Regions from separate parts of the Homo sapiens genome. Here regions 1 and 2 are each linked to region 3. The links are contacts of gene promoters, found by promoter capture Hi-C in blood cells and fetal thymus (Javierre and others, 2016). All regions are on one chromosome and are shown on one strand. Each heading gives the region's core, a stretch centred on a gene start or on the middle of the fragment in contact. The rest is flanking DNA. Distances are from core to core; before and after follow the strand shown. Region 1 holds the start of ELMO1 (engulfment and cell motility 1). Region 2 holds the start of PSMA2 (proteasome 20S subunit alpha 2). Region 3 holds the start of CDK13 (cyclin dependent kinase 13).

Evidence for each region. The method cuts DNA at HindIII sites, captures the fragments that hold promoters and counts their contacts. A CHiCAGO score of 5 or more calls a contact.
Region 1: the fragment with the promoter of ELMO1 here is called in contact with the fragment with the promoter of CDK13 in region 3 in 1 of 17 cell types (total CD8 T cells); the score reaches 7.6 in total CD8 T cells.
Region 2: the fragment with the promoter of PSMA2 here is called in contact with the fragment with the promoter of CDK13 in region 3 in 2 of 17 cell types (total B cells and fetal thymus); the score reaches 7.1 in total B cells.

Annotation. Positions count from the first base shown.
Region 1 is chr7:37,447,359-37,450,442 of GRCh38, forward strand. It overlaps ELMO1 (engulfment and cell motility 1), which reads right to left and starts at 1,506. Exons shown (of 22, transcript NM_014800.11): 1 at 1,317-1,506. RefSeq lists silencers at 1,146-1,195, 1,206-1,255. The HindIII fragment of the contact is 5,071 bases long and covers 1-3,084 here.
Region 2 is chr7:42,930,727-42,933,925 of GRCh38, forward strand. It overlaps PSMA2 (proteasome 20S subunit alpha 2), which reads right to left and starts at 1,448. Exons shown (of 8, transcript NM_002787.5): 1 at 1,392-1,448. The coding sequence starts at 1,432. It overlaps MRPL32 (mitochondrial ribosomal protein L32), which reads left to right and starts at 1,650. Exons shown (of 3, transcript NM_031903.3): 1 at 1,650-1,790. The coding sequence starts at 1,661. RefSeq lists an enhancer at 1,599-1,828. The HindIII fragment of the contact is 5,414 bases long and covers 1-1,748 here.
Region 3 is chr7:39,948,694-39,951,505 of GRCh38, forward strand. It overlaps CDK13 (cyclin dependent kinase 13), which reads left to right and starts at 1,563. Exons shown (of 14, transcript NM_003718.5): 1 at 1,563-2,812. The coding sequence starts at 1,949. CDK13-DT (CDK13 divergent transcript) reads right to left here and starts at 726. Exons shown (of 1, transcript NR_158201.1): 1 at 1-726. RefSeq lists enhancers at 12-931, 431-560, 631-880, 932-1,850, 1,351-1,630 and 2 more and silencers at 1,121-1,350, 2,141-2,430, 2,501-2,560. The HindIII fragment of the contact is 3,453 bases long and covers 262-2,812 here.

The DNA of each region.
Region 1 (3,084 bases), core at 256-2,755, 2.5 Mb before region 3:
ATTAGGCCCGAATCATTCAAGGCCAGCGGTGTTGGGAAGCCCATGATCCAGCGCGGGGGGCATCCCAAATATATTCACTGAGTCTCGGGAGCCGTCCAGGGACTCTCAGAGCTGGGTCACTACCTGGGACCAAGCCTGAGGCTGGTCCTTTAGGTCAAGGCAGGTCCCGACCCGCCTCCAACTTCAAATGGCCCCCTAGGCGGGAGAGGGTCACTGGGCGGGGAGTTCCTGGCTGTGCGGTCACACACACACACACCGACTCACACACACACCCACAACACCCCCCCCACACACACACACTCACACACACACCGACGACACACCACACACACATACATACGCGCGCGCGCACACACCACACACACACACACACACACACACACACACACACGCCGCCTCGCGCGCGCTCGCGGCACAGCACCGACTTCCCAACCCCAAACACACGCGCGCACCCCCGGGACAGCTGAGTTCTGTATTTCCTCTTCCTCAAAGCGACTCCGGCGATCGCAGTCGCCACTCTCCGCTCCGATTCCCGGGCCCCCTGGCATGCCGCCGCCCCCTTCTCTGAAGGCGCGCCCGGTGCGTCCCCTCTCCGAAGCCGAGATTTCCACGAAGCTCCACAAAGCTCCCCGCCGCCTCTCTCGGTCTCGGCGGAGACCCCGGTGTGTCCCCGGGAGGAGAGTATTTACTAACCAGAACCTCAGGGGCTCCCGGCTGCCCAGACCGCCCTCTCCGGCCCTCCTGGCCCCCATTCCTCTGGCCCATCACCGCCCCCTCCCACGAGCGCGCTCGCCGGGGGATTCCCTCCCATCCCCGAGTGCAGGAGAAGACGCCGAGTCTGAGCCGCAGCCGCTTCTCTAGCTCTATAGGAATCTTGACTCCAAGATCCCAGCCCCACATCCCCCGTCCCCAGTAACCCCGCGCCAGCGTCGCAACCCTCCCGCGCCCCCCCTCCCGCAGACCCTGGTCGAAATGTCTCGGCGGGCTCCCGGGCCCCGGGCCCTGCGCTTCATCCGCGGGCGCCGCACCTCCAGCGCCCCCTCCCTCCGCTCCCACTCCCACTCCCGCCATCCCCGGAGCTCAGACTTCCCCAACTGCAGAGCGCCCCGACGCGCCCGCAGCCCTCACCCTGCCGAGCGCGGCGGCCACCCCCGCCCGAGCCGCGGCGCCCCCAGGGAGGAAACAAAAGTGTCTCCGCGGCGCCCGGAGTCCCCCGGAGCAGGACGCCTCCTCCCGGCCCCAGTCCCGGCCCCCTCCCCTGCCGCGCCGAGGTCAGCGAGTCGGGGCGCGGCGCCAGCCCAGGAAACTTTACGAACCTGCTTGGGGTCGCAGGACAGCAGCGGCAAGGGTTCCCGGCGATCAGAGCTCCGGCGACCCGCCACCATTGAAGGGGAACTGGAGGCTCTGTCGCCCAGCGTGGGGCCGCGGCGGCGTGGGTGGCTCTGCCTCTATCCTGTGCCCATCCTCGCCCGCTCCCGCTCGCCCCAGCACACGCACTTACACTCTGGGTCGGCCGGCTGCTGCACCGCCGGCTGCCGCTGCTCTCACTTCCTCTTCCTTCCTCCTGCTGGCCAGAGACACATTTTGCATCTGCAAGGCATCCGGAGATCAGCCGCGAACTCTCCTCCCGAGCGGACGCTGCGGAGTTGCAGCCGCCGCCCCCGGCACCTGCGCCAGGACACTCGTGGTCTGCGCGTTCGCCTTGCGCCCGCACCCTGCCTGGTCCCTGCCCACTGCACTTTGCCTAGGGGGATGCCCACGACTTTTTGAAGTCCCCCTACTTAAAAGACAGAAATGTCAAACACCATGCATGCCTCAGATCTGCTATAAATAATATGTGTGCAGAGCATGACTTCGATGAGCTCACACACGGCGTTTGGAGGCACTAATTAACTCCGTCACCCTCATAGCGCCATCTCCGGGAGGCCAAAAGCGAGTAGCATCTTTTCACATCCTTTTTTAATTTTTGGCAACCGGTTCCGGATATTAAGGGGAAACTTCGGTGGGCTGTTTGAACGCTACTTTAAGACGTGTTTGTTTTGACGCTGTGCCTCTACCCTTGGACAGAGTGGCAAAAAAAAAAAAAAAAAGTTTCCTCCCTCTCCGTCGACATCTATGTATTTACTAACCCTGCAATTGAAACTACAAGATGTATTTCTAACCAATTAAGCCAGGGACTTCCTAATTTTGCATAACTTTGCATAAGGCAAGACGTTCCACCCATAATTTGATATTTAGAATAAATTACTTAATTCATGCAACCTACTTAAATCATTTTCAAAGCAGAAATCAAAAACGTTAACTCCCAGCCTAGCTGGCAGGAGGGAAGAGGGTTGCAGGCGAACCACCTGTCCTCCCCCAGTTCAGAAATACCTACATTGGCTCTACCGGAAAAGTCAAAGGCAGTTCGGCATTTTCTTCTAATTGGCAAAGGAAATAAGTCGGGGGCAGGGAGGCATCAGAATCAAGGTGGAAAACTAAGCTCCCTTTTAAGATCTTCCCCCTCAAGAGCCACAGGCAGCTGTTGAGCACTTGAAATGTGGCTATCCCTGAGATGTTCTGTAAGTGTAAAACAGACATACAATTCAGTATTTTTAAAATGAATGTAAACTAACTTGTTAAGTATGTTTATGTTGATTACATTATTGCAATACATGAGAATAGTCTGATGTAGTAAGTCAGTTGGATTCGTCATGTGTTGGGTTAAGATATAAGCATATATAAGATTAATTTCACCAGTTTCTTTTTACATTTTCTGATGTAGCTACTAGAAAATGTAAGGCTACACATAGGCTCTCATTAGTGGCTCACCTTATACTTTTAATGAACAGCTCTGATCTAACTCCTTATTATACGCATGACTCTGGGAGGCAGTATTAGTATCAAGAGTGCCTGGGTCCAGATGGTTATAAGCCAGTAACTAAAGCAGGGTGACTGCAGGAAAGCAACTTAACTTCTGTATTTCCTCATCTATAAAACAGTAATGATATAATAACAAAAGTCAATAGCACCAACTATTAAATGAAGTAATTTAATAAGTAGTCAGTAAATGGAGCCTTTACTAACGATGCTCTGAGACACTTG
Region 2 (3,199 bases), core at 198-2,697, 3.0 Mb after region 3:
AGGGTGGTGCACACCTCTAGTCCCAGCTACTCCAGAGACTGAGGCAGGAGGATCCCTTGAGCCCAAGAGCTGGAGGCTGCCAAGTCCCTGTCCCTAAAAAAAGGACCACATTTGTTTTCTTCATAAATAGGAACAGTGAATACATCCTGCACACACTATTCTGTCATATGTAATATAATGAGACCTTTTATTGCATAATTAAATTAATCTCGTTCAAAGGTTACAAAAAAACTATTACATACACCCACTGCTTACTGAAAACTGCCAAGAGAAAAGTACTTTTGGAATTTAAGACAACGTTATGTAATGGAAAGTGTATTTTTGTTATCAGAAAAAAAACCCAGTTTGAATGTCAACTCAGCTACTCACCGATGACCTTAGACAAGTTGTTTAATTTGTACAAGCTGCGGTTAGTTCATCTGTAAGAAGCTGAGATAACATTCATTATAGCAGTGGAAAGAGATGGAGCAGGTTAAGGTTAAGTTGCACCTAACAAAGTACTCAACAAGTTAGATCCCGCCTGCCTTCAGTTGTCAGGAGTACATTTTAAGTAAACTGGGCATTACTGATCCTTAAGAAAATGGGTAAGTCAGAAAACTTCCCCAGTCAATTTTTAAAAGTCTTCGGCGATGGTTTTCTCACGTTGAGAGCCATGGTTCGCCCCAACTGTATTTTGGAAAGTAAACTTATTATTCTAATCCCCTTTTCTACAATAGAAAAACCTACAATCTTGTTTAAAGTAAACATCCCCCTCCCCGACGTTCCCCCCAGTCCACCAAAAAAAGACCAAAACTCAAACTTGCCTCGTTGTTAGGGGTTCACAAAAAAGTGATAGGGGCTTTCGGTTTTTAGTCCTTATGTTTCTAATTCGTGCATCGAAGAAACCGAAAGCGGGAGGTTTTGAAAGACACTAGTGCCAAATGGAGACCAAGACTCCGACTTAACTGTAAAGCTGAGAGTTTTCCAAGAAAAGGGAACCCCACATATTTGACCAAGATTCCAAGTTTCAGAAACCACCGCATCAGGTCTACTTGAGCCAGGAAAAAAATCCTGAGTTCGGAACGGGCCACCCAGAGATGGTTAAGCTAAAACTGCCTTCTTTTCTGGTCTCCAAAGTGAAAGCGAATCCTTGGCTATGTGCCTCACCGTCCCGCAGCCCCATGTTAACCCCGCAAAACCGCATCCCCCCGACCCTCCAGCAGCCTCCGACCAAGGAAGCTCCAGGAATCCCGGGTCGGCCTGGCAAATGACTTTGCAAAGCCGCATTTCCAACTCCATTCCCTACTGGACCCTCCAGAAGCACCAATGCCGACGTCAGGATGGGAAAAACTAAATCGACAGAGTACCAGCAACCTCGACTACGCTGAAGACCTCGAGGGCCCCTTCCATACCTGAATGTAGTCAGCGAAAAGCTGTACCCGCGCTCCGCCATCTTTACCCGAAGAGCCAAAGCACAGCCGCACACATGCGCACTGTGGCCGATTTCCTTTCATTTCCCCGCCCCTCACCTTTCCTTTACTCTCTATGATTGGAGGAGAGTCAGAGCTGCTCCAAGAGCATGCGGGGTGTTGTAGTTCTAAGAAGCGAGGCTTGCCCGATTCTGTGCCTGTGCGCATGCTGAAAGCAGGGGCGGGACCGGGGCGGTCTTCCAGCAGGGAAAATGGCGCTGGCCATGCTGGTCTTGGTGGTTTCGCCGTGGTCTGCGGCCCGGGGAGTGCTTCGAAACTACTGGGAGCGACTGCTACGGAAGCTTCCGCAGAGCCGGCCGGGCTTTCCCAGTCCTCCGTGGGGTAGGTAAAGAAGGGCTCCGTGGGAGAGGGGGCTGATGACGGGACCTCGGGCAGCGTAGCAGACGCAGCTTACACAGTTCGCCCTCAGCCCCGGTTCTGATCCGCGGCCTCATGTCGGGGACGTAGTTCGTGACATTCCCATATTAGCGAGAACAGAACGACTGTTTTTGCGCTCCCTCCACCGCAAAAAAAAAAAAAAAAAAATTCCTCTGCTTGTTCCATTCGTACACAGAATGTAACCCAAGCTTGTGTCAAAGATAAATCATAGCCAGCCAGTAAGTAAAGCGCTGAAAACAGATTTTATTCAGTAACTACTGCAGGTAAAGAGCTGAGCTCCATCCCGGTTTGTGCAGAGGTGACTTTGGGCGTTTTAAAGGGAGAATGAGCGAGGCGGGAGTGTAGGGGCTCTGTAGAGTCAGAGAAGTGTAGTATAGTGAAGTCAGTGCAAATGTGATTAGCCGGCTGTGTCTGCTAGCTCGCAGTTGTCTTAGGGAGAATTCTATCCTCCCGCAGAGACTGGGAGACAAAGGCCCTATCCTTCCTAATGATTAGATTTCGAAGGAATGGCTCTCAGGGCCTTGAAAGAAAAGCTTCCGAGTTAGTTGCAAGGGATACGTATTTACAATTATATGCCCTTTCCAGGAAATGCTCTAAGGGAGTTCGGGACCTACTATCGGGGTATGTTGGCCAAAATAAATAGGAAATTTTCCAGGCAGCGTTGAGCTTTCTCAGGCAGGCACTTTAAAGGGGGGGCCGAGGTCATCCTAGGATACAGCCTTATGCTGCTAGAAACTATGCTAGAGTTTGGTCAAGTCTGTGGAGTTCAGGGATTTGTACAGAGTTGTCCTGAGAGGACAGTTCTGCAGGTCTCACTTGGCATCAAGGCTCACCACTCTCTGGATCTGTCTTTCCTTTCCAGCCCTGCCCTCACCTCCCCTCCCGCTTCCCCTCTCCCCCCTCTCCTCTTCCCTTCCCTTCCCTCCCTTCTTTCCTCCCTTCCTCCCTCCCTCCCGCGCAGTACATGTTTTCTGTGGTGTTTGAGCTCTGAGGAGCTGAATTCTGTTTCCCATGTTTCACTTGGAATTAATTTTAATTGGAAGTATCTTGGATGTTGAAACTGTCATGGCTTTGGCATTTACATTCTACTCAATTTCTAAGCAGCCTGAAAGTGATAATATCCAGAAATATACCAAGAAAATATATGCCACTATATGCCAAGCAATGTGCCAAGCTTTCTACATGTACTTCCTGGGATAATCTTGACAACAGTCCCATTAGGTGTATACACTTTCCAACTGAAACAGTAGGCTCACAATGGTCCCAAGTTCACAGACAGTCCTGAGCCTGTGTTGTTAATCACCGGGGCATGCTTGGCAATACTTGTGGACATACTGAAAATAAATGCCAGT
Region 3 (2,812 bases), core at 313-2,812:
TCTGTAACTGAAGGGCAATTCTAAGGCAAGAAATGAGATGTGAGGTCACTATATGGCTATGTTTGGCAACCCCAAAGGTTTAGATATGAAGGTGAAAGTGGGTGAAGTACTAAGAGGGCAGTCCTCATTCGCACAAGATGTTTTTATTTCAAGCCTCCTGAGAATTTGGAATTTTCAGTAGTTCCTTTTAACATTCCACTTATTTCCTGTATTGATTTAAAGCTTTAAAAATTTTTATTTTAAAGTAAATAGTGTTACCGAAGCTTGAGCTGTGATTCCCAAGTGTGTTTTTTAGGATAAGAAGGGGCCTCGCGGAAGTTGCGGTGAGCCGAGATCGCACCATTGCACTCCAGCCTGGGCAACGAGAGCGAAACTCAGTCTCAAAAAAAAAAAAAAAAAAAATGGGGCCTCGAACTTTGGCGTACGTGAGACAAGTTAAACCAACGCCATCTCCACCCTGTTTTGCGGGGTGTTTTCTCTCCTTTCGCAGCTGTTCCACTCCCAGGGCTTGACTGAAGGTACACGGGGGGTAACTGCCTACTCCAGAAGGCCACCAACAGCATTATTTCCCTCGCAGTCTCCAGAAACACTTGTTCTCACTGTGACCTTTCGCTCAACAGGCAGGCAGTGCGGCGTCTGCAGAGCCGGAACCGGCACTGCGCGCTGGACGCAAGCAACAAGCACGACAGGCGCGCCACCACGGGCAGAGTCTCAAGCAACAGCAGTGGGCGGCACACGAATCCTCTCCTTTCTTTAACCCTTCTTCACACGGAGTCCCACCCTCGCCGGAAGCCGAGCGGTTTCTACATCATGCCACTTCCGGTGCGGCCTGCCGGCCCCTGGCGGGAGCGAGCACGCCAGTGCGCGGTAACTTTGTTCCCGCCTCTCTTGCCCCGGCCACCTCTCATCTTCGGCTTTCTCTGAGCGTGAATTGCGGGCGCGCTCCCGGTCGTACGTCAGGGCTGAGGGGAAAAGCCGAAAGAGCGAGGCGAGAAGGAGGGGTTGTGGAGGTTAGGGCCCAACCAGCAAGTCCCGTTGCTCTCCCTCCTCCTGACGAGGAGCGGAGAGGGAAGGGGAGGAGCGAGCCGGGGCAGGCCGCGCACACCAGGAGCCTCCTCGTGGAGGGGGGGAGCGGAGGAAAGGGGTAGCTCCGCCACCTCTGCTGGCGGCGGCGGCGGCGGCGAAAGAAGAAGAAAGTCAGGGCCCGTACCTACCGCCACAGACTCAGAAACGCCCCTGCCCCCATCTCCCCGGAAATAGCCCCCCGCCCAGCCCCGCACAGTCGCTGCCCCAACCGAGAGCCGCAGCCCGGTCGCCCCCGCCTCGCCCCGCCCCGCTGCCCAGCCCCGCGGGCCGCAGAGTGCGCGAGGCCCTAGGCCGGGAGTTGTTGTCAGGCCCAGGCCACTTCCGAGGCGCCTGCGGTGTGTCGCCGCCACCACAGGAGGACGACGTCGACGCCGAGGAGGAGGCGGTGGAGGCGTGTTGTTGTCTCGCCCACTCCCCTCCCCTGAACTTGCACCCAACGTCAGGGCGCGATGGAGTGAAGCGGCGACGAAGGTGGTACTTCCGCGTTGCGCTGCCCGAGCCGAGAGCGCGGCCAAGGCCGCTCCCCCACCCCCGGGGGCACTTGGAGGACTCGGGACTCCCCCGCAGGTCAGCGCCCGGCGCATCTGGTGTTTTCGCTGCCGAGGATAGGACGACGAGCGCAATCGGGAGCTCCGCCGCCCGGATTCCTGCTTCCCTGGGGCCCGGAGGCTGCTGCGTACCCCACTGTGACCTGGAACCCAGGGACCCGAGTCCCGACCCGGATTATCGTGGCGCTTTTCCCGGCCGGCTCTGGTGCTCGGTGTCCCTCCGCCGCCGCTCCCGTTTCCGGCGGGGGAGATGGCCAGGATCTGACCCGGGAGGAGGCCGCACCCGCGCCGCGCTCTGCGGCTGGCTCTAGGCGATGCCGAGCAGCTCGGACACGGCGCTGGGGGGAGGCGGGGGCCTGAGCTGGGCGGAGAAGAAGTTGGAGGAACGCCGCAAGCGGAGGCGATTCCTGTCCCCTCAGCAGCCGCCGCTGCTGTTGCCGCTCCTGCAGCCGCAGCTCCTGCAACCGCCGCCGCCCCCGCCGCCTCTGCTCTTCCTGGCTGCTCCCGGCACGGCCGCCGCCGCAGCCGCCGCCGCCGCGGCCTCCTCCTCTTGCTTCAGCCCGGGCCCCCCTCTGGAGGTCAAGCGGCTGGCGAGAGGCAAGAGGCGCGCAGGAGGGCGGCAGAAGCGGCGTCGCGGGCCCCGCGCCGGGCAGGAGGCGGAGAAGCGTCGGGTCTTCTCGCTGCCCCAGCCGCAGCAGGACGGCGGTGGCGGTGCTAGTAGCGGCGGGGGTGTGACCCCGCTGGTGGAATACGAGGATGTGAGCTCCCAGTCCGAGCAGGGGCTGCTGCTGGGGGGGGCCAGCGCGGCAACGGCGGCGACGGCTGCCGGGGGAACGGGGGGCAGCGGCGGGAGTCCGGCCTCCTCCTCCGGCACCCAGCGGCGCGGGGAGGGGTCGGAGCGCAGGCCCCGCCGGGACCGCCGCAGCAGCAGTGGCCGCAGCAAGGAGCGCCACCGCGAGCACCGGCGGCGGGATGGGCAGCGCGGTGGCAGCGAGGCCTCCAAGTCCCGCAGCCGCCACAGCCACAGCGGCGAGGAACGGGCCGAGGTCGCCAAGAGCGGCAGCAGCAGCAGCAGCGGCGGCCGCCGGAAAAGCGCTTCGGCCACATCCAGCAGCAGTAGCAGCCGCAAGGACCGGGACTCGAAGGCCCACCGCAGCCGGACTAAGTCGTCCAAGGAG